Linked DNA regions of Homo sapiens: regions 1, 2, 3, 4, 5 and 7 are each linked to region 6. The links are contacts of gene promoters, found by promoter capture Hi-C in blood cells and fetal thymus (Javierre and others, 2016). All regions are on one chromosome and are shown on one strand. The core of a region is centred on a gene start or on the middle of the fragment in contact, and the rest is flanking DNA. Distances in the headings are between cores, read along the strand shown.

The links. The method cuts DNA at HindIII sites, captures the fragments that hold promoters and counts their contacts. A CHiCAGO score of 5 or more calls a contact.
Region 1: a contact is called between the fragment with the promoter of EEF2K here and the fragment with the promoter of IGSF6 in region 6, in 6 of 17 cell types (total CD8 T cells, neutrophils, fetal thymus and 3 more). The highest score is 8.7, in total CD8 T cells.
Region 2: a contact is called between a fragment that was not itself captured here and the fragment with the promoter of IGSF6 in region 6, in 1 of 17 cell types (total CD8 T cells). The highest score is 6.3, in total CD8 T cells.
Region 3: the fragment with the promoter of POLR3E here is called in contact with the fragment with the promoter of IGSF6 in region 6 in 1 of 17 cell types (total CD8 T cells); the score reaches 5.2 in total CD8 T cells.
Region 4: a fragment that was not itself captured here is called in contact with the fragment with the promoter of IGSF6 in region 6 in 1 of 17 cell types (neutrophils); the score reaches 6.8 in neutrophils.
Region 5: a fragment that was not itself captured here is called in contact with the fragment with the promoter of IGSF6 in region 6 in 1 of 17 cell types (erythroblasts); the score reaches 6.0 in erythroblasts.
Region 7: a contact is called between a fragment that was not itself captured here and the fragment with the promoter of IGSF6 in region 6, in 1 of 17 cell types (neutrophils). The highest score is 8.8, in neutrophils.

What each region holds. Positions count from the first base shown.
Region 1 is chr16:22,204,541-22,207,706 of GRCh38, reverse strand. EEF2K (eukaryotic elongation factor 2 kinase) reads right to left here and starts at 1,429. Exons shown (of 18, transcript NM_013302.5): 1 at 1,028-1,429. RefSeq lists silencers at 929-1,198, 1,359-1,658. The HindIII fragment of the contact is 13,136 bases long and covers 1-3,166 here.
Region 2 is chr16:22,331,734-22,334,616 of GRCh38, reverse strand. POLR3E (RNA polymerase III subunit E) reads right to left here. Exons shown (of 21, transcript NM_018119.4): 20 at 2,432-2,557; 21 at 1-973. The coding sequence ends at 917. It overlaps LOC124903664 (a long non-coding RNA gene), which reads left to right. Exons shown (of 2, transcript XR_007065026.1): 2 at 1-707. Among named protein-coding and RNA genes, the nearest start is that of POLR3E, 36 kb to the right of the region's middle. The HindIII fragment of the contact is 7,227 bases long and covers 1-2,883 here.
Region 3 is chr16:22,296,024-22,298,990 of GRCh38, reverse strand. POLR3E (RNA polymerase III subunit E) reads right to left here and starts at 1,582. Exons shown (of 21, transcript NM_018119.4): 1 at 1,454-1,582. TRL-AAG2-4 (tRNA-Leu (anticodon AAG) 2-4) reads right to left here and starts at 1,851; the gene lies at 1,770-1,851. RefSeq lists silencers at 362-501, 1,512-1,961 and enhancers at 712-851, 1,294-1,838. The HindIII fragment of the contact is 19,375 bases long and covers 1-2,967 here.
Region 4 is chr16:22,380,540-22,383,538 of GRCh38, reverse strand. No RefSeq gene overlaps it. Among named protein-coding and RNA genes, the nearest start is that of CDR2-DT, 7.2 kb to the right of the region's middle. The HindIII fragment of the contact is 2,875 bases long and covers 203-2,999 here.
Region 5 is chr16:22,641,424-22,644,479 of GRCh38, reverse strand. No RefSeq gene overlaps it. Among named protein-coding and RNA genes, the nearest start is that of LINC02890, 29 kb to the right of the region's middle. The HindIII fragment of the contact is 3,044 bases long and covers 82-3,056 here.
Region 6 is chr16:21,651,299-21,654,245 of GRCh38, reverse strand. IGSF6 (immunoglobulin superfamily member 6) reads left to right here and starts at 1,638. Exons shown (of 6, transcript NM_005849.4): 1 at 1,638-1,714. The coding sequence starts at 1,648. All of the region lies in intron 4 of METTL9 (methyltransferase 9, His-X-His N1(pi)-histidine), which reads right to left. The HindIII fragment of the contact is 3,735 bases long and covers 1-2,642 here.
Region 7 is chr16:22,364,219-22,367,080 of GRCh38, reverse strand. It overlaps CDR2 (cerebellar degeneration related protein 2), which reads left to right. Exons shown (of 5, transcript NM_001802.2): 2 at 2,067-2,179. Among named protein-coding and RNA genes, the nearest start is that of CDR2, 9.0 kb to the left of the region's middle. The HindIII fragment of the contact is 3,798 bases long and covers 1-2,862 here.

The DNA.
Region 1 (3,166 bases), core at 180-2,679, 550 kb before region 6:
CTCGCTAAAAACATTAGGATAGACTACGTGACTCAATTCGCTGTGACTTCACAGCCTGTCCAGGGCCCTCAACCACAGGGCTCTTGGCCATCAGATGTCTCCCGGGGCCATAGACTATGACACTGTGTGCCAGGCACTGTTCCAAGCACCTGACATATACATACTCATCTACTCTTTCCAAGGATACTAAGTGGTAGATACTAATACTGTACCCATTTTACCGATGAGAAAACCGAGGGCCAGAGAGCATAAATGAGCTAGAATTCCAACCCAGGACTCCAGCCCTAGTGTTTCCTGCTTTCCTGGCTGAAGAAGCACCCACCACCGAGGTCCCAGAGGTCGGGCTCCCTGGGACCGTCCCCCTGGGCAGATCTCACTTCCCCATGCGGCCCATCTGTCACACTCAGGGCGCAGCTGGGCTGGTTCCCCGAAATCCCCCAGGCGCGCGCAAAAGGATCTAGGCCGGGGCTTACCCGGGAGGCCCCCACCCCCGCGCGGCCACCGGCTTATTAATGCCCAGCCCCTTGGCACACATGTCAGCAGCGCCTGCCAACAAACTCCCGCAGCCAACAATGCAGCAAGGGCGCGTCTATACAGTCCTGGAGGTTCCGGGAATTCGGGCTGACGCAGGCCTCTAGTTCAGGGGAAAGGTGGGGGATGCGGCTCTGAGCCCTGCAGGGGACAGGAAGGCAGCGATGCGCCCACACTCTAGGGGCCCCGAGGGGGGAGGCCCCCAAACTCTCTGTCACTTGCAGCCAGATCACCGCCCATTGCTTGCCAATTGCTTTCCATATCCACATCGCCTTTAATCCGCACAACTTCCCCATTTCTCCAAAGCAAGCACTTAGCCCCAGAGAGTTTAACAACCAGAGGAGAAGCGCCCCCACACTCTCCTTCCATGCCTTCTCCGGCCCCATTCCCAAGCCCAGACCCAGCACGCTCCAGACGCCAGCTGCACCCGGGCGCACAGGCCTGCAGCGCGGGCTCCCAGCCCCCCACAGCCTTGCCGGCCGCGGTCCACACCTACCTCCCTCGGGCAGACAGGCGCGGCAGCCGCTGCCCACGGCCGCGAGGGTCCAGAGGAGTTGGCAGAGGCTCGCGGCCCGGAGCTCCAGGGTGCAGGGCGGGCGGGCCCCCCGAGAGTGCCGGGGAGCGGAGAGCGGGGAGCGCTAGCTGGCGCTCCGGGCAAGCAGCTGGGGCCACGCGGGGTAGATGGACCGATCCCAGGGCGCGCGGGGCAGTCGGAGTGATCCCAGGAAGGGCGCAGGGGCCGTTGGGACGATCCCGGGATGTGGGAGCGCGTGCCAGGGGGGACTCGCGTGCAGGCGACAGCGAGCGGGACTCGGGTGGCTGCAGGGCCGGGAGTGCGGGCGCTCGATCCAGGAAGGAGGGGAGCTGAGGCTGAAGCTGGGGCTGGTCTAGGTTGAGCAGAAGCGGGCGGGCAGGGGCGGGGCTGGCCTGGCGGGCGCACGGCGTGGCGCTCACGTGGCCGCCCCCAGGTGGCCATCACAGCGCCTGCAGCCGCCTAGCGGGCCTCCTGGCTCCGGCGCTGGCTCCCAGCCCCAGGTGCAATGGTTAGCGCTAAGTCTTGGCTCCCCCTGCTGAGTACACAGTGTCCGGTTCTCCTGCTCAAGGCTGGCCTAGCATCCGGCAGCGAGGGGGCAATTCGAGGGAGTGACCAACTTCCGTCCTCTCCCGCCGCGCCTCGCCATTCTCGCCTGCTTCTCGCTTAGTTCCTGTATTCCTGTCCTTTCCAAAATCATTAGTGATCCAAGCCCATCGCTTGTTTGTATGTATCTCTATCCATAACCTTAAAATATTTTTTATCGGAAATACTTTGTTTTTCCTGATTTCTGCTTTGTAAAAACAGGCACGTATGACGATTGCAATTATTTGTGTAGTTTTAAAATTAGTATCTCCTTTAGTTATTCCTAACTCTTGACACAGGGCCTGGGTGGCACACAGTAGATGCTTAATAAATACCTGTGGCATGAGTGGTAGAGTGGCTAAGGTATAAAAAAGAAAACGAATTAAAACTAATAGCTACTGTGAACACTTTAATATTAGGTCCTTCCAGATACTTTGTTAGTGAAATTTTAGAAATTTCACACATTCTAGATAGAAAAGTAGTAACAATGACATGTTTTGAGGGATTTCTCTCATTCCATCTTCCCAGCACTTTGGGAGGCCGAGGCCGGCAGATCACCTGAGGTCAGGAGTTCGAGACCAGCCTGGCCAAAACGGTAAAACCCTGTCTTTAGTAAAAATACAAAAAAGCAGCCGGGCGCGCCTGTAGTCCCAGCTACTCTGGAGGCTGAGGCACGAGAATCGCTTGAACCCTGGAGGCAGAGGTTGCAGTGAGCCGAGATCGCGCCACTACACTCCAGCCTGGGTGAAGGAATGAGACTCCGTCGCAAAAAAACAAAAACAAAAAAATAAAAAAGAAAAAAGAACAAAACTGAGGCTTATAGAGATAATGACATGCCCCAGGTGAGGCAGCTAGAAAAGGCAGAGCCAGCAGTAAATCCAGACTTCTCTGATTTCAAAGTTCAGGCTCTCCAAAGAACTTTTTTCCTTATTTATAAACCCCAAAGAGAGTAAACTCCAGCTTTTGGCAAGACAAAATTGCACCTGGAATTCTGACCCTGGGGCCGTCAGGCAGGAAGGGAAGATCAAAGATGCTGAACTAGTCTGTCCAAGCCCAAAGCAAGATTGGAAAAAAAAAAAAGACGCTACTGCTTAAAGCTCTATGGCCCTTGGGCAAGTTATTTTACTTCTCTGAGCCTCTGTCATTTTTGTCTGCCCAGCAGGAGTGTCCTTCTTTGCATTAGCGTCTTGGTTAGTCTTCAGGGAACCAGTTCACCCTATTTCAGTTCAGGAAAATAGCCCTCCCCACTCCCCTGGCTCCAAAAATGGACACATGACCAGACCTGGCCAATTAGCATATTTCATCCCTTCAGCCTCATTGATTGGTTCAGGGATGAGCATGTGATCCAAGTTAGGCCAGTGAAATACTAATCTGGGCCTTTTATAGTAACCATAAAAAGAGAATGTCTCTTTTCCAGGGAGTTGAGCAGATAGGATGTAATAGTAGAGTTTCTGAGCATTAATTCTTATGGCAAATTTTATTAAGCTCCTATTGTGTGCCAAATATGGTGCTAGGAAT
Region 2 (2,883 bases), core at 135-2,634, 680 kb before region 6:
TTTTTAAACTAATGTGGTTGCTAGAAACTTTCAAAATTATGTACGTGACTCGCCTCTTTCTAGTGGACAGTGCTGCTCTGTCTTCCTCCATTAGCTCCGTTCCCTCTAGATACACGTAACGCTGAGCCCAACAAGATCGCCTTCCTGTAACCATTTGAAGATAGCACCATGATGCTAGTTTAGTGTTTGCATTTATTTTAAAAATACACAAAATAGAAATTTTTACATCAAAGTGTGATAACCTCACTTACACATTGTTCCATACTTACCTGGTTTTGTTTGCATCTTTCTGCAAACATTAAAAGGAGATGGATTTGATTCTGATTTTTTTGCTATGGTTCATGTAAACAGTTGAGACTGCTACATAAAGTAGGTTGTTGTCAAAGGTGAAGTGGCCACAGAATCCCAAGAATAGAATAATTCAATTTGGTTTAATGAAATTGGTGGAGGTCTTAGCAGATAGATAATCCAAGACTAAATATTGTCTTCTAGGCATTTTAAAAATTAAGAACTTTGAGGTTTTCTTCATGTTGTAAACATAACTTAGACCTTGTTGGCATTAAGTTTACAAAAGAAAATATTAAACCATGATTTTTATCATCCTGCCCATGTCAGTATACACTCTCTTTATTATGAGAATGAAACCAAATAATAAGCAAAATACATCAGGAATTTCAAATTGTACTGCAAAGAAGGTCCCAGCTGGTCTCTTCTGGGAGTGATCTAACTAACTTAAGCTGACCCTGCGACTGGCTGAGGATAATCCCTTCTGTCCACTGCACCGTGCAATGCCACAGGTCATGAGATGGTCAGTTCCTCTTGCTCTGTGTCGTCTGAAGCAAGTCGAGGCCCTACTTCTGGTTCCGCCCTTCTTCCTTGGGCTTAGATTTGCTGGGTTAGTAGTTTGCTACTATTGTCAAGACTGTACTGTCCCTTTAAGGTACCACATGCCACCATAGCTTACACAGCAGTCCTATGAGAGAGAAACAGGGTAAGCACAGATTTTTGCAGGAAAAGGAGCTAATTACATTCTGTCCACAATGTCAACACTCGATTTATGATTAGTGAATAGAATACAAATGGGAAATCAAAAACTGCCTAACCATACCACCATGGCTACTACCAGCCACCCTTTCCTCAGGGGTAGTGTTTTTTTTTTTTTTTGAAACAGAGTTTTGCTCTTGTTACCCAGGCTGGAGTGCAACGGCATGATCTTGGCTCACTGCAGCCTCTGCCTCCCAGGTTCAAGCGATTCTCCTGCCTCAGCCTCCCAAGTAGCTGGGATTACAGGCATGTACCACTACGCCTGGCTAATTTTGTATTTTTAGTAGAGATGGGGTTTCTCCATGTTGGTCAGGCTGGTCTCAAACTCCTGACCTCAAGTGACCCACCCACCTCAGCCTCCCAAAGCGCTGGGATTACAGGTGTGAGCCACCGCGCCTGGCCATTCCTCAGGGGCATTTTAAAAGTGAGGGTGGGCCAGGCATGGTGGCTCACACCTGTAATCCCAGCTACTTAGGAGGCTGAGGCAGGAGAATTGCTTGAAACTGGGAGGTAGAGGTTGCGGTGAGCCGAGATTGTGCTACTGCACTCTAGCCTGGGCAACAAGAGCAAAACTCCATCTCAAAAAAAAAAAAAAAAAAAAAAAAGGGGGTCTACGAAATACAGATACTGACATGCCCAGAACAAGGGTGCTTAAAAAACAGTATTACTTATATGGCTCTGGATGTTTAATCAAAACAAGACATTGTCATCAGTTTTCTGTCTCTCAGTGTTGCTGCAAATATGGTTGGTATTTGTACTACAGTCACTTCAGAAAAGCATTATAGGTTGTACATTAGGTGCTTTCATATAGTAAACAGATCATATTCCTTTTTAAACTAAATTTAAGAATGGATTCTACTGAAAGTCATGTGTGTGGCTATGGCAACAATCAGAAGATAGTTCAAAATTCAAGGGAGAGTAGAGTGAGGATTCTCAACTAGGCCCTATCATTTTAGAAGACGCCTACCCACTGCCAAGCTCATCCAACCTACCATATTTTTTTGTTGTTCTATTGTTTTAGGCTCTTAGCAGCCTGAAGCCATGGTTTTTAGTTTCTGTCTCTAGTGACAAGCAGAGAAGAGGGATGAAAGGGGCATTACTGGCCTGGCCCAACCAGAAAGAGAAACAAAGCATCCATGGCTGTATTCTTTCCCTTGGACACCACTGTGACTATATTGTTTGAAGGGGTCAGTCCTCTGGCACATACCCCCTTCCCCAACCAATGCCAATCAATCAATCATTAACAGTTGCTCAAGACAAGACTGACTGGGGAGTGGTCCCAAGGAAGCCTGATTTCATATACACAAAGACACTAGAGTCCCTTCTACACACTGTCAGCCCCTTCCAGAGCCTTTGATATTGTTTGTTATGCACAAAATGGATGTACCTTTAGTACTTTATCCACCTCCTGTTTACTGAGATCTTCTCCACACTCTTGAGTCAACCGAGACTGGATCATGTTTCGGCGTACCCGGTAATTTTTGGAAAAAATTTCAAGCAAAACCTGTCGATGCTTTAGTAGCAAAAACACGTTATGATGGGAAACAGTGATCTAAAAAGAGAAACATCCCCAAACAAGACACCCAAGCCATGCACCTGACTTTGTGTTGCAGTCTCTGATAAAAACCCTCACGCAGCACCTCTGGTTAAAGATGAGCCAAGTCATCTCTAGAGACCCAGCAAGACAGTGTACAGAAATAAAAACACAAAAGTAAAGGCATTAATGCTATGTCTGGAAACTTGAATATAAATAAAAACAAAGGTATATGCCAGCATAACAAAAGAACTGGTGAAGAGACATGAGAGGATGAGTGGCTTGAACATATTTCTGCATGGTAA
Region 3 (2,967 bases), core at 333-2,832, 640 kb before region 6:
AGCTCCATGAAGGCTTCTCAGTGCTTCAGTTTCCTCAACTATGAAATGCAGACAATCATACTTTACTTCATCAAAGCTGTTATGGGGAGCATTACTTTAAAAAAAAAATCCAGTGCTGGTTCTCTCAATACCTAGAACAGTGCCTGGCACGAAGTTGACACTCAATATAGTACAAAGAATACTTTATATTTAATCTTCTCATTAGCCCTATCAATAGAGATTTATCATCTTCAATTTGGAAATGACGAGACTGAGGTTCAGATATAAGCAACTCATCCAAGGTGGAATGAGGACAGAAACTTGGGTCTCGCTATGTCAAAGATCCTTATTCTTATTCTTAACCACTATACTGCACGGTTTTCTGATAAACGGCAGTATGGTTAAGTGGGTAAGAGCTTGGACCCGAGAACAAAACTGTGCAGGTTCAAATCCCACCACAGCTGCTTGGCATCTGTGACCCACCTGAGTTGTCTGGGTTTGGTATTCCTCCCTATTTTCATCCCTAAAGTAGGGAAACTAAGTACCGACCTCCAGACCCCTGCGGGGAAGGAGTAAGGACAGGACGCTAATAAACGTAACCTCTGGGAAGGTTTGTTATTACTTGACAACATGTTTTCTGCCAACGTAAGCGGGTAATGACGCTAAGCCACAAGTCAAACGCTGCAAGCAGGAGCGTCACCCGGTTTCTACTGAGCCGTCACCACAACCCTATGAGGTAGGAATTTCTATTATCTCTATTTCACAGATGAGGAAACTGTGGAGATCGCTAAGATCTCTTCTTTCCGCCTCCAAGCCCAAGGAATTCTAAAGCTAACCCAAAGGAACGACCTTGTTTGTTTACTGACACCTCCTCGGACCGAATGGTCAGGGCTGTATCCGGAACACAGAGTTGGCTCGGTAAACACTGAATGGTTGCCTGAATAAATGAATGAGGAATCCCTGGCCTCGCCGGGCAGAGGCTAATCCGGTTCAGCTGCGAAGTGGGGGCTCCGGCAGGCGCAGGTGCCCTCCCTGCCCATCGGGGCGGGCCGCCGATCCCGAGCCTCGCTGTCCAATGGGTTTCTGCTCCCTCGCGGGTGGTCAGGCCCCCCTTCTCACGCCCACCACGCAGTCCCTGCCGCGAGCCGCCACTACACCCGACGCGCGGACAGGTGTTTCTTCCGTAGGAGGCCTCCCAGGCCCGGATAGGGCAGGTCGGCTGGACCCTGAGTCACCGCCGCCAGCGTCGGCCGCGGCCTCCCCAACTCCCAGGTGTCAGGTCAAGGAAGTCAGAGTCCGGGGTCGGCCTGGAGCCGGCTGCCCCTCCTCCCCGCCCGAGTCCCGAGAGGCCTCCAGCTGCTAGGCACAGCGCGGCGCGGGCCTCCTTGGCCTACTCGGGAATCTAGCCCAGGCCCACGTCGTGAGTGCGGTCCGGCTCAAGCCCCAGCTCGGGCACTGCCAAGACGGGACTCACCTCTCCGCGGGGGCCGAGCGCGGACGGCGGCAACGGCCCAGTTACCCGCGGGCTGCAGAGACGGCGGCGGCCCGGCTCTCCTCTCAGGCGGCGGCCATGTTGCTGGTGGAGAAACTCCGGCGGACACGTGGGGGGGAGCGGGCCGGCCCCAGCGTTTCCTCTTACCCACAATGCCCCGCCCCGGTGCACGCGGCTCCGCCCCCTCCGCCGCGCCATTCATGCAGGCCGTGAGCCCCGCCCTGCAGCAGGGGGCGCTGATGGCACGCGCAAAACTGAGCCAGGAGTGTATGCAGCGGGGACAAAAAGACAGCAACCCTGGCAGCGGTGGGATTCGAACCCACGCCCCCGAAGAGACTGGAGCCTTAATCCAGCGCCTTAGACCGCTCGGCCACGCTACCCAGCTGCAATATGTTTATGCCAGAAAGCTACTTAATGCTTTTGCTTTTGCATTTAATCTGGACATTGCGAGGCGTTTTCGCTGAGGTTTTTTTTTTGCTTAACGTGTGTTCAAGGTGATCCCTATAGAATTATTTTAAAAAGCCGTGTTTTGGAAAATAAACACTTGCTCCAGTCTTTAGACCCAGGTTGGTTCCGAATAGGTATTAGAGCAAAACGCATTTTTAGAAACTTTACTCTGAGTTGGATGGTTAACCCGGAGACCCCTGGTTAACCCACAGGTAATCCATACGACCCGGATTGGGTGTCTCCGGGAGAAGAAATTGATCTGATCAGAAACATGCACCAGGGGATCTGACGGCCAAACCCTGGAGCTGGTCTGGGCAGTTGTCTCTGAAAAATTATGTTTAAATTTTTACTTACACAAATAACACGCGAATTATTGCAAAATATTTAAACTTTGCAGATAAGGTACAAATGCTCTTTGACCTTGACTCGCATCCTAGGCCCCTCCGCCGAGGTAACTAACCATTATTATCTGTTTAATATGAACTATGGTTTGAATGTGTCCCCCAAATTTCATGTGTTGGAAATTTAATCCCCAATGTGGCAGTATTGTGTGGTGGGCCCTTTAAGAGGTGATTAGATCATGAGGGTGGAGCCCTTATGAATGGATTAATCTCTTCATGGATTCATGGATTAATGGGTTAATGGATTAATGGGTTATCTTGGGAGGGGGACTGATGGCTTTATAAGAAGAGGGAGAGAGACCTTAGCTAGCAAGGGAGCAGCTCAGCACCCCCTCCATATGATGGCTTGTACTGCCTGGGAACTCTGCAGGTGTCCCCCACCAGCAAGAAGGCCCTCACCAGATGCACACTCTTGACCTTGGACTTCTCAGACTCCATAACTGTAAGAAATAACTTCCTTTTCTTTACAAATTACCCAGTTTCAGGTATTCTGTTATAAGCAACAGAAAATGGACTAAAACACTATATATCTTTCTAGATCTTTTGCTGTGAATTTATATGTTTATATCTATATGGATATATATAGATATAGCCATAGAAGATAGCTTTGTTTTTATTGTGTATGGATTTGAACACAAATATTGTCAC
Region 4 (2,999 bases), core at 391-2,890, 730 kb before region 6:
ACTCAGGAAGCTGAGCCAGGAGGATTGCTTGATCCTAGGGAGGTCAAGCCTGCAGTGAGCTATGATTGCACCACTGCATACCAGCCTGGGCAACAGAGCAGTCTCAGAAAAAAAAAAAAAAAAAAGAGAGGGACAGAGACTGGATATCTTAGTAATAATACTGATTTTTCCATATAAATTAATTTTCCAGACAACCTAAGCTTATTCTTTAAATTCTAATGCCTTTACATTTTAACTAGCAATCTTTTAAAAATCTCTCTTTCCGGCTGGGCGCGATGGCTCACACCTGTAATCCCAGCACTTTGGGAGGCCAAAGTGGGTAGATCACCTGAAGTCATGGGTTTGAGACCAGCCTGGCCAACATGGCAAAACCCTGTCTCTATTAAAAATACAACAATTCGCCGGGCGTAGTGGCATGGGCCTGTAATCGCAGCTATTGGGGAGGCCGAGGCAGGCGAATCACTTGAATTGGGGAGGTGGAGGTTGCAGTGAACCGAGATTGTGCACTGCACTCCAGCCTGGGTGACAGAGCAAAACTCTGTCTCAAAAAATAAAATAAAAGGCCAGGCGCGGTGGCTCACGCCTGTAATCCCAGCACTTTGGGAGGCCGAGGCGGGTGGATCACGAGGTCAGGAGATTGAGACTATCCTGGCTAACACAGTGAAACCCTGTCTGTACTAAAAAATACAAAAAATTAGCCGGGTGTGGTGGCGGGTGCCTGTAGTCCCAGCTACTCGAGAGGCTGAGGCAGAAGGATGGCGTGAACCCAGGAGGCGGAGCTTGCAGTGAGCCGAGATCGTGCCACTGCACTCCAGCCTGGGCAACAGAGTGAGACTCCGTCTCAAAAAAAATAAATAAAAGAAAATAAAGTAAAATAAAAAATAAAAATCTCTCTTTCCCTCAAAGGAAGGAGATCTGTCCTATGTGAAAGGACAGTAAAGATTCCATCTCACCTGGGCTTGATAAAAGGCCACTTCTGAAATCTTGTACAGATGTAGAAAAAGTTTCACATAGTAGAAACCAAAGACAGAATTCAGCATTTCAGTCCCTAATGTCATCATAGAGTATGCCCAAGCAATGGGTTTGATATTTAAAAGTGTCATTTTCCATGCAGAGGAACTCTTCTTCCCTTTGTTTAAAAAAAAAAAAAAAGGTTAAAATTCACTGCACACAGTAGTGGATGGGGGGGCAAAACATGGCTGGCCAGTACTTATTTTAGCCAAATAAGAGTTCAAACCTACGAGCTGTGAGTATGTCACCAGATTTAACACCTTACTTCCTTATCTATTCACTCAATATTTTTTGAGATGCTCGCCAGGAAACCTAGTTTGCATAGAGTATGACTCCACTTATATTTTTGTCTATCTCTTCGAACTTATAAAGTGGGATTTCAGCCTGGCCAACAGGGCAAAACCTCATCTCCACAAAAATACAAAAATTACCTGGGTGTGGTGGCATGCACCTGTAGTCCCAGCTACTTGGGAGGCTGAGGCAGGAGAATTGCTTGAACGCCAGAAGCAGAGGTTGCAGTGAACTGAGATGGCACTACTACAGTCCAGCCTGGGCGACAGAGCAAGACTCCACCTCAAAAAAATATATAAAATAAAGTGGGATTCATCCAAGAGCTTGGACATGATTAACTAGTGTCAAGGAGATATGTTTATGCCATTATTATCCTCCTTACTTGGTAGGGTACAACAGAAACAGAACAACAAGGTGACAGCCTTTTGCTCAAGTCAAAAAGAAAATAAGTCCCTCATCTTAGTTTAAAGTTGTTCATTCAGTAGTACAGACTTGCATTTGAAGACTTATTCTTGATCTTCTGTAGCTTTGACAGCAAGGACATCACTACAATGGGTACAGAAATAACACATTCTGATCCTTGCTGAGATCCTTGTATGGGCCTATCTTAAATCTAGCCTATTGTCTGTCTTACCCTTTGATTTTTATAAGTAGAAAACAGGAAAAGGCTAACCAAGCAAGAGGAAGGCATAGATTCATCTTCCTTTCAATCTTGACTATAGTTTAAAGAGAATACCATGATCTTTCTGTTCTATTCTTGGCTTACTTGAATATTTAGCCAGGTCTCTGCATCTTATTCAGTCAGAAAACAGACACAGATTCAGATAACTCAAAGGATGTTACTTGCTTGAGTAATCCTTGGGCCTCGCTTTAACTTTGTAGATCCAGGAACAGAATTAAGCAGACAGTTCGGTCTACACTGCCAAATTTCTTAGGGAAAAAGAGGGCAAGTCAGAAGGAGGAAGTTGGCATTTGGCTCAAATGACCAAATTATTTAAGGTCTCTACACTTCACTTTGCACCAAGTAGACCCAAGAATGATTATAATTCAGCTACGTGTGGTGGTGCAGATCAGTAGTCCTAGCTATTCAGGAGGCTGAGGCGGGTGGATTGGTTGAGCCCAGGAGTTTGAGGCTGCAATGAGCTATGATCTCGCCACTGCGCTTTAGCCTGGGCAACAGAACAAGACCCTGTCTCAAATTAAAAAAAAAAAAAAAAGAAGACTCTAATTCTATGAGTGGCAGGGTCCTAGAATTATCAAAAATGGGTTATCAAACCCATATGCATACCAAGCATTGTCTATAGAATAAAGAATGTTTTGTCCACATGTGTACTTGTATTCTTAAAATGTTTGTAGCTTCTGCTATAATGATTAAAAATACAAATCTGATTGTTTTCATCATGATGCAGTTCCCAAACACTTCAAAACTACTATTGTGTGGAGGCCAGCCAACATTTTTTACTTTAAAAGCAATTCTCAGATTTCAAAATGCTGGGAACTACCAGTGAAGACTTCACTCTAAGGAGTTCATCCCTGAGAATGAAGACTGAGGCTAGAGGTTGCTTGGTTACTAAAAGAGTCAAAAACAAGGGAGACAGTAGAATCAAAAGCCAAGACACAAATTTAGCCTACCAAAACCTAGGGACTCTTGTTTCTTTTAGTTTTATTTCAGGCGTGCTAAAACAAGAAGCATGCTG
Region 5 (3,056 bases), core at 354-2,853, 990 kb before region 6:
TAAGGTAGAATCAACAAGAATATCCAATGGACAGGTTGTGGAAAGTGAGAAAAATGGAAGATTTAACGACAACTCTAAGCTTTTTAGGTTGAACAATTGAAAGAACAAGAAGTCTCTATAAATATGAACCAGATCCCACATTTCTGACACAATTTAGGACAGTCAGGATATCCCAATTTATCACTTGCTGTTCAATAATAACGATGGTAATAACAATTACTATCTTTTTATTGAGCATTTACTATATGGCAAGGCATTTTATATGTATATTGCATTTAATCCTACACCCACTCCATGAGCTAGACAGATTTTTAGCCCTGTTTTTCCCCATGAGGACACTGAGGCTCAGAAAAGTTAAATAACTTGTCAAGTTCACTTACTAGTGGCAGGGCCCATAATGAAGCCCAGGACTCTATGGCTGCAAGGCCCATGACCATAATGGCATGGCATACTGTCTCTTCAATTCCATAATTTTCTAACTACTTATCATGAGTCGGGCATAGGCTGAGGCATTTTAAATATGCAATTTCATTTAATCTTTACAATAATCCTATGAAGCAGGTATTCTCATTCCCATTTTCAAATGGAAGCTAATTGAAATATCCAAGCCCTACTTCCCTTGTTCCAAAACCACGGTTCTCCAGGAAAATATGATAGAGCATGCTATGGGCTGAATGTTTGTGTCACCCCAAAATTCATACGTTGAAACCCTAATGCCCTATGTGATTGTATTTGGAGATGAGCTTCTGGGAGGTAATTAGGTCATGAGGGTGGAGCCCTCTTGATGGGATTAGTACCTATATATTTATTTATTTGTTTATTTATTTATTTATTTTGAGACAGAGTTTCACTCTTGCTGCTCAGGCTAGAGTGCAATGGCACGATCTCGGCTCACTGCAACCTCTGCCTCCCAGATTCAAGCGATTCTCCTGCCTCAGCCTCCTGAGTGGCTGGGATTACAGAAGTGTGCCACCACGCCTGGCTAATTTTGTATTTTTAGTAGAGATAGGGTTTCTCCATGTTGATCAGGCTGGTCTTGAACTCCCAACCTCAGGTGATCCACCCACCTCAGCCTCCGAAAGTTCTGGGATTACAGGCATGAGCCACCATGCCTGGCCAGCATTAGTACCTTTCTAAGATGAGATGGAGCACTCTTGAGTTCACTCTCCTTTCTCTCTCTTTCTCTCTCTCTCTCTCTCTCTCTCATCCCTCACTCCACCCCCATCTCTCTCTCTTTCTGTCATGTGAAGATACAGCAAGAAGGTGTCTGTGCAAACCAGGAAGAAAACTCTCTCCAAATCAAATCATCTAGAACCTTGATCTTGGACTTCCCAGACTCAGAACTGTAAGAAAGAAATTTCTGCTATTTAAGCCACACAATCTATGGTATTTGTGTTACAGCAACCTGAACTAAGATAGGGCGAGTAGTGTCCCACCCACCTGCCCTGATATTAGCTGGAGGGGAACAAGAAACTGAGTAAAGTGGGAGAGGGAGTACAAAAAGGCACAAGGCACAGTCTCTGCATTTAGGGGGCGTGACTCTCCTGGGGAAGATGATCAATTACCCACAGCCGGCCAAATGCCAATATGTCTCAAGTATGTGCCTTCCTTCAGTGGGTAGCCCACCCACACTGAAGGTTCGCCCCATGCCACAGACACTACTGTACATTGAGGATACAAAGATGGACCAGAGGAAGCTCCCACAAAATCTATGAGCAATGAAGAATTTTGGAGGCATATGCATTCTGTAAATGATTTGCAAGGCTTATTTAAATGCATCATAACTGCTACTGAGCCGAACGTCTATTCCCAGTTCTTTTCCTTAAATGTTAAAGACTAAAGACAGCACTTACCATCTGCTATAGCTTGAGATCTGCTCCTTCCCCCAAGGTCTCCCGACATGGCAGGCCCTGGCTGGCAGTCCCATATGACACAGCACACAACCCACCGGGAACATCTAACAGTCAGAACATCTGCTGGCCTTTTCTCTGCACTTTGCAGCTGTTTTAAACTTGTAACCGTTCCCTCTCTGAGGTCACTTCAGGCTTGTGGACAAACATGAAGTGTCTTAGGGTATTTATCTCAGTCTCCAACGAGTCTGGGTCCTTGGACTTCTGCTTATTTATTTAACAAATACTTGCTAAGCACCGGCTATGTGCCAAACATTGCTCTTGATGATACAATGGTGAACAAGAAAGATGCAGGTTCTGCCCTCATGAAACAAAGTCTACAAGGGAAAACAAACTTTGAGTAAGTTAACTGGCTATTGAGAAGATGTACAGAGTATGGCTATTGGGAAGATGTACAGAGTACACCAGAAACATATCATGGTAGATCTAAACCAGCATGGGGTCTCCTGGAGTAAGTGATATCTGAGCTAAGAAATGAAGCAGTTGTTAGCTGGATGGTAGGGGGGACAGACGAATCATTCCAGGCAGAAGGAATAATGTGAGAAAAGGCCCTGAGTCAGGATAGAGTATGTCAGCTTTGAATAAGAGAAAGAACTATAGAACAAGGAAGAGAGTGATGTAAGATAAAGCAAAGATACTGGATCATATTGGGCCTGACAGGTCATCTCAGGGAGTCCATATTTATCCTGAAGGCAGGGGAAAGCCATTAAATGATCTAAGCAAAGGAGTGACTGGATCTATTTGCATTCTTAAAGATAATTCTAATGGCTGTGTGGGAAGAAATAAGAGAACAAGGAGGAAGTAAATTGCAGTCCTTTGCAATTGTCCAGATGAAAGCTGGCCATTTCCAGTGGCTAAACCATTGGAAATGAAATGGATGGTATCTAGGCATGTTTTTGGTAAGTGCAACAAAACCTGGTGAGAGACTGCATGAGGCCAGAGACATACAGGCAGCCAACAAGCATATGAAGGTAGAGAAGTTAGCATGGAAGCTGATTTAACCTTTTAAGGACAATGGTGTCATTTTGAGATAGGGAAAACTGAAGGAGGGGTAGGTTTGATGAGTAAGGGTGATGAATTCATTTCTAGACATGCTGAATTTGAGATGACTGCAAGGCACTCAAGAGGATATGTCCAGAAAGAAAA
Region 6 (2,947 bases), core at 389-2,888:
GTGAAACCCCGTCTCTACTAAAAAAAATACAAAAAAATTAGCTGGGCATGGCAACATGCACCTGTAGTCCCAGCTACTTGGGAGGCTGAGGCAGGAGAATGGTGTGAACCCGGGAGGCGGAGCTTGCAGCGAGCCAAGATCGTGCCACTGCACTCCAGCCTGGGCGACAGAGCGAGACTCTGTCTCAAAAAAAAAAAAAAAAAAAAAAACAAAACAGACTGAGAATAACTTTCTGTTAATGAGAAAATATATCATGAGCAGATGCCAAGGGCACAGACATCATATCATGGTGGGGAGATTTTTCATAATTTTCAGTGGTGCAGATGACGCTCTTCCCATGTCTGGGGAATTGCCTGCCCAGAGTCTGGGAGAGACACAAGGCCTGGGAGCCGCTTTCCTGGCCTGCCGTGCAGCTGAGGCACTGGCACGCAGCCTAAGCCAGGCACACTTGCCCATGCCCTGGAATGGAGAGCCAGTGACCCAGAGTAGTGGGGATGTGAGCTTCTCCTTCTCTGGGGGTGGAGCAATGGCAGTGAGACCAAGGGGCTGGGGCAGTGGTTGAGCGATGCTGACAACAGGGCTGATGGCACCTAGTGTTTGGCAGTGGCAGTAGCATCCTCTTCAGACCTGTTTATGGTGTGATTTGAGGCATTCTTCCTGGCTGTGGACCCCACACAAGATTCACTAGCCCTCCCAGTGACTCTAGGATCTACCTTCAAATGTTTGCATAAATTTCCTTTTAAGTCAGCCTGAGTCTGTTTCTGCTGCTTTACAAAGAAGACCCTTACTGAATCACCACTAAGTGCTGGGGGAGAGGACACAGAGGACAGAGGGCCCACATATTTGTTTCTCAACACATTAAAAGGGGGTCTTTGGGCCAGGCATGGTGGCTCACACCTGTAATCCTAACACTTTGGGAGGCCAAGGCAGGGGGATCGCTTGAGGGCAGGACTAGCCTAGACAACACAGAATCTACAAAAAAAAAAAAAAATTAGCCAGGGGTGGTGGTGCATGCCTGTAGTCCCAGCTACTCAGGAAGCTGAGGCTGCAATGACCTGCAATCTTGCCACTGCATTCCAGCCTGGGTGATAGAGACCCTGTCAAAAAAGGGGGGAAGGCAGGTGTCTTTGGATTCAAAACTGGAGTACAAAAAGTTAATAACAGACAATTTATTTATTCGCTGCATTAGAATGTGTTGTTTACTAACTTTTCTCATCTCTACACAAAGCCACTTCTCCTTCTGCTGTTCTTTGTTCCCAGCAGTTACTGGCCCAGAGTGGCACCCAGAGCAGGTACCCTAGACAGTGACTGAACTGTTCTGAAAAATCCAAGTACGAATTATTTGTCAAACAATACTCCTTCCTGGAAATATGTGCTAGGTGTAAATCAAAATCTCACCCAGAAACATCTAACACCTATGACAACTGTAAAATCCATGGAAAAAAAAAAGATATGCACATTTCTAAATGTGCTCCAGGCCAAAATCTCAATGTTAAATGGTGAAGCCATCCTTGCACAATTTCAAAAAGTTCCTGATTATGGTTCCTTCATAAGAGGTTCCTCTCTTCAGCTCTTCTTCCCTTCTGAAAAAAGAAAGCCAACTTTCCTTTCAAATACACACCCCAACCCGCCCCGGCATACACAGAAATGGGGACTGCGAGCAGAAGCAACATCGCTCGCCATCTGCAAACCAATCTCATTCTATTTTGTGTCGGTAAGGTTCTTTTTCTTCTCCTCCTTCATTTTATTTAAATCAACTGCTATTTTTCACCTAATGCATTTATATTTTAAGCTCCTTCAGATTAATTTTTAAATGTATAACATTATGAAAACTGCCTAAGAGGATAAGTTTCCTTTTTCCCCTGAGAAATAGACAATAAAAAAATAGCTGAGAAAAAGTTTCATATTAACCTTGAAAAGTCTCTTTGCTATTATGCTAATTGGAGACAATCTGACCAAAGGGTTGAAAATATTCTTAAAATCGTAGGTATAAGTTATCAATAATTTAATTATCATACAAACTTGATCTGCACATAGAAAGCAATAAATGATTATTTGCTGAATATTTTCAAAGAACAATTTCTATAAAAGTACTTTTCATTTAAGAAAAAAAAAACTGCCATGACTCCAATAGCCATCCCATAGTATATCTATTTTTAAAATTCTGTCTACTTCTGTTTTTTTATCTATGAAAGAGAAAGGATTTCCAATACATCTAGTAATCTCAGATTTGCCCACACAATTTGGATTATAGGGCAGGGAAGGGGGGAAAGTTCTTAATTTTTTCTCATCTGTGAAGAAATATATCAAAATGTTAATGGGAGTTATTTCAGGCAAAAGGACTATGGGTGACTTTTTGCTTCTACTTTTAATAACCTGTTTTTTGCTAATAAGTATATATTACTTTCATAGACTATTTTAATTAGCATTATTTTAAAGAAGAATTCCTGTCTTTTAGAGATATATTCTGAAAGATGCAGATAAAATGGCTGGGATTTGCTCTAAAATAATATGGGAGTGAGGGAGTAGGTGGGAGGAGAAAAGAAACAAGATTGGGTCGAAGCCATGTGATGGCAGGGGGTTGACTGTACTACTTCGCTACTTTGATATGTTAGAAATTTGAAATCTAATATAATAAAGCTTTGGGCTGGGCGTGGTGGTTCATGCCTGTAATCCCAGCACTTTGGGGGCCAAGGTGAGAGGATCACTTGAGCTCAGGAGTTCAAGACCAGCATGAACAACATAATGAGACCCCCATTTCTACACAAGAAAAAAAAATAGCTGGGCGTGATGGCACCTGCACTGCACCTGCAGTCCCACCCACCTGGGAGGCTGAGGCAGGAGGATCACTTGAGCCCAGGACTTTCAGGCTATAGGGAGCTGTGATTGTGCCACTGCACTCCAGCCTGGGCAACAGAGCAAGACATTTACTTACTTCTTACTTACT
Region 7 (2,862 bases), core at 345-2,844, 710 kb before region 6:
CTGCACTCCAGCATGGCAACAGAGCGAGACCGTGCCTAATAAAGAGACAGAAAAAGAAAGCCCTTTGTTCATTATCACCAAATCCAGGTTTTTCTCCCCCGCTTTATCTTTTAGACTTTATATTGAATTGGTCAACAAATCCTTTAGCTTTACTTTCAAAACATGTCAGAATTCTGCCCCTCCTCTCCCATCTTCATCTCTGCCACCCTGGTCCAAGCCACCATCATCTCTCACCCAGACGATTGCAGTATCTTTCTGTCACTCTGCTCCCACCTTTGTCCCATTCACCCTGTATAACAGCAGCCGGAGTGATCCTGTTAAACCTCCATTGGATTCCTTCATTTGGAGTAAAGGCCAAACTCTTGACCTCTTTAGTTAGGCCCTCCGCAAACTGGCCATCTTGGAGCCCCTCTGATTTGAGTCTTCCCCCTCCCCTCCCTGCCCAATACATTCTGCTCCACCCTCCTCAGCCTCCTTAATGACTCAGTCATGCTTCCTCCCAGGTGCTTTGCACTTGCCTTGCCTCTGCCTGGAGTGCTGTTTCCCTGATGGATACACATGGGTCACTTATTCTGTTCCTTCACACATTGATTCTAATGTGGCCCTGGTCACATGTTCTTAAATTTCAGCCTCCCACATCCACACTCCTCCTGTACTTCTTCCTTGCTTTATTTTTTTCTCTTTAGCATTTATCGCTATCAAGTTTTATTGTGCTGTTTCTCCCAGTAGAATATAAGCTCCATGAGGGCAGGGATATTTTTTTAATGTGAGTTCCTTATGGCTCCTGGGCACCATCCCAGTGCCTAGAATAGTGTCTGATATTATTGAGTATATGCATGCATGCATGAATACTGTTTATCACAGTATGTGAGTTTAGTTACTCATTTGTCTGGCTTCCTCCACTAATCTGGGAATGTCAGCAAAGCAGGACTTCATTTTATTCACTGTTCTATAGCTAATGCTTAGCATAGTGCCTGGCAACAAAAACATTCATTTGTGAATCAATGACTATTAATAGTACTTTGCGTGCGTATTGCAACTTAGTTTGTAAAGTACTCCTTTATGTATTATTTCATTTGATTTTCACAATCTTATATTGATAAGACAGTCATCTCTCTAAACAAGAATACTAACTATAGGGGCCTTAAAGTCACCATATTGAAAGTGTTCTGGTAAATGATAGAACTGGGCCTGAGACTTACCTGCCCAGAGTGCAGTGCATTTCCCACTGTATCAAAGGACTGCTCCATAAGATTTACTATGCAAAGAAGTATTTCAATGACGTATGTTACAACTAGTGTCCTTTCTTATATTGTTAACTAAATTTTCATTTCTGGGAGTTGAGTATAATATAAACAAATCCTGTTTTATGGGCATTATACCTAAGAATAGAGAGAGTTGAAAAATGAGGTTTAAAATAAAATATGGTTCTGTGCTAAATGGAAGTATGAGCTACTGACATGTAATTACCTCAAAAACCACATTTCTGTTTTGCTTTTCTAGTTGCTCATCTTACAGAAGGACACGAAGAGAAGTAGAGTGACCTGGGGCAGTGTTCTTAATGCTGATGTATTTTTCCTTTTCTTGACTTAATAAATTTTAGTCCCCTTAGGAGTCCAGGATATATGACAATAAACTTTAACAGTTGTATTCACAGCAGGCAAATTCATGGGAACTTTAAAGATTTTTGAAAGCTCCACCTATACCTTGGCTCAAGGGTCCATTCAAAAAAGTAGACTGTCAGGATATGAATACATTCATTGTACTAGCAAATAGGATTTTAGAAGTAACACTGCGGAATGATCATTCCTGAACAAATAACTGCATCTCCATAAAGTAGATGACCATTTTTCACTTCTTACAAGTATGGGTACATAAGAGAATACATTACCTGCTGGAGGCGTCAGTTTAACTGAATTTTAAGTAGAACTCGGGTTTCCTTCTGTGCCACTCCACCTTCCATTGGGATGTGACTTAAACTACATGTTCTTTTTTGAAGGACTGGGTTATATAAATTGTTGATGTGAGATCATTTGTATTATTCTAAGATTCATTTGTTGTGCTAGATCTTCAACTTGCTGCTGAGCTTGGGAAGACATTACTGGATCGGAACACAGAGTTGGAGGACTCTGTTCAGCAGATGTATACAACCAATCAGGAGCAGTTACAGGAAATTGAGGTAATTCACTTGGCAGGAGAGTTACACTTTTGACACTTCGATGTGTTGCTGTTATGCCAATCACATACTGGTAAAAAAGCACTTGCAATTAGATGCAGCATTTTATTTTTTAACACAAACTTTTTTGAGAATGAGAACCGCCTCCCGAGTAGCTGGGATTACAGGCGCCTGCCACCACGCCTGGCTAATTTTTGTATTTTTGGTAGAGATGGGGTTTCACTGTGTTAGCCAGGCTGGTCTCGAACTCCTGTCCTCAGATGATCCACCTGCCTTGGCCTCCCAAAGTGCTGGGATTACAGGCATGGGCCACCACACCCGGCCTAAAACATGCAATATTTAAGATATACAGAATGGGGTAAGAGAACAATACAGTGAATACCCATATATCCACCACCTAGCTTAAAAAAGAAGACTGCCCACACTCTTGAACTTCCCACCGGAGAGGGAACTTATACCTCCTCCTTGGTGACATATCCCTCCCACCTACTACCAAACCATATCCTAAATTTGAAAAAAAAAAATCATAGTTCCTGATTTCACAGTGTGTTCAGATGTTTTGCTCCATTCAAATAATCATAAAATACATGTTGCTTTCTCTCTGCTGTGATCTTGATTTGTTTACATTTTTGCTGGATATTTTATTAAAATGCTACATTTTTGGCTGAGTGTGGTGGCTTATGCCT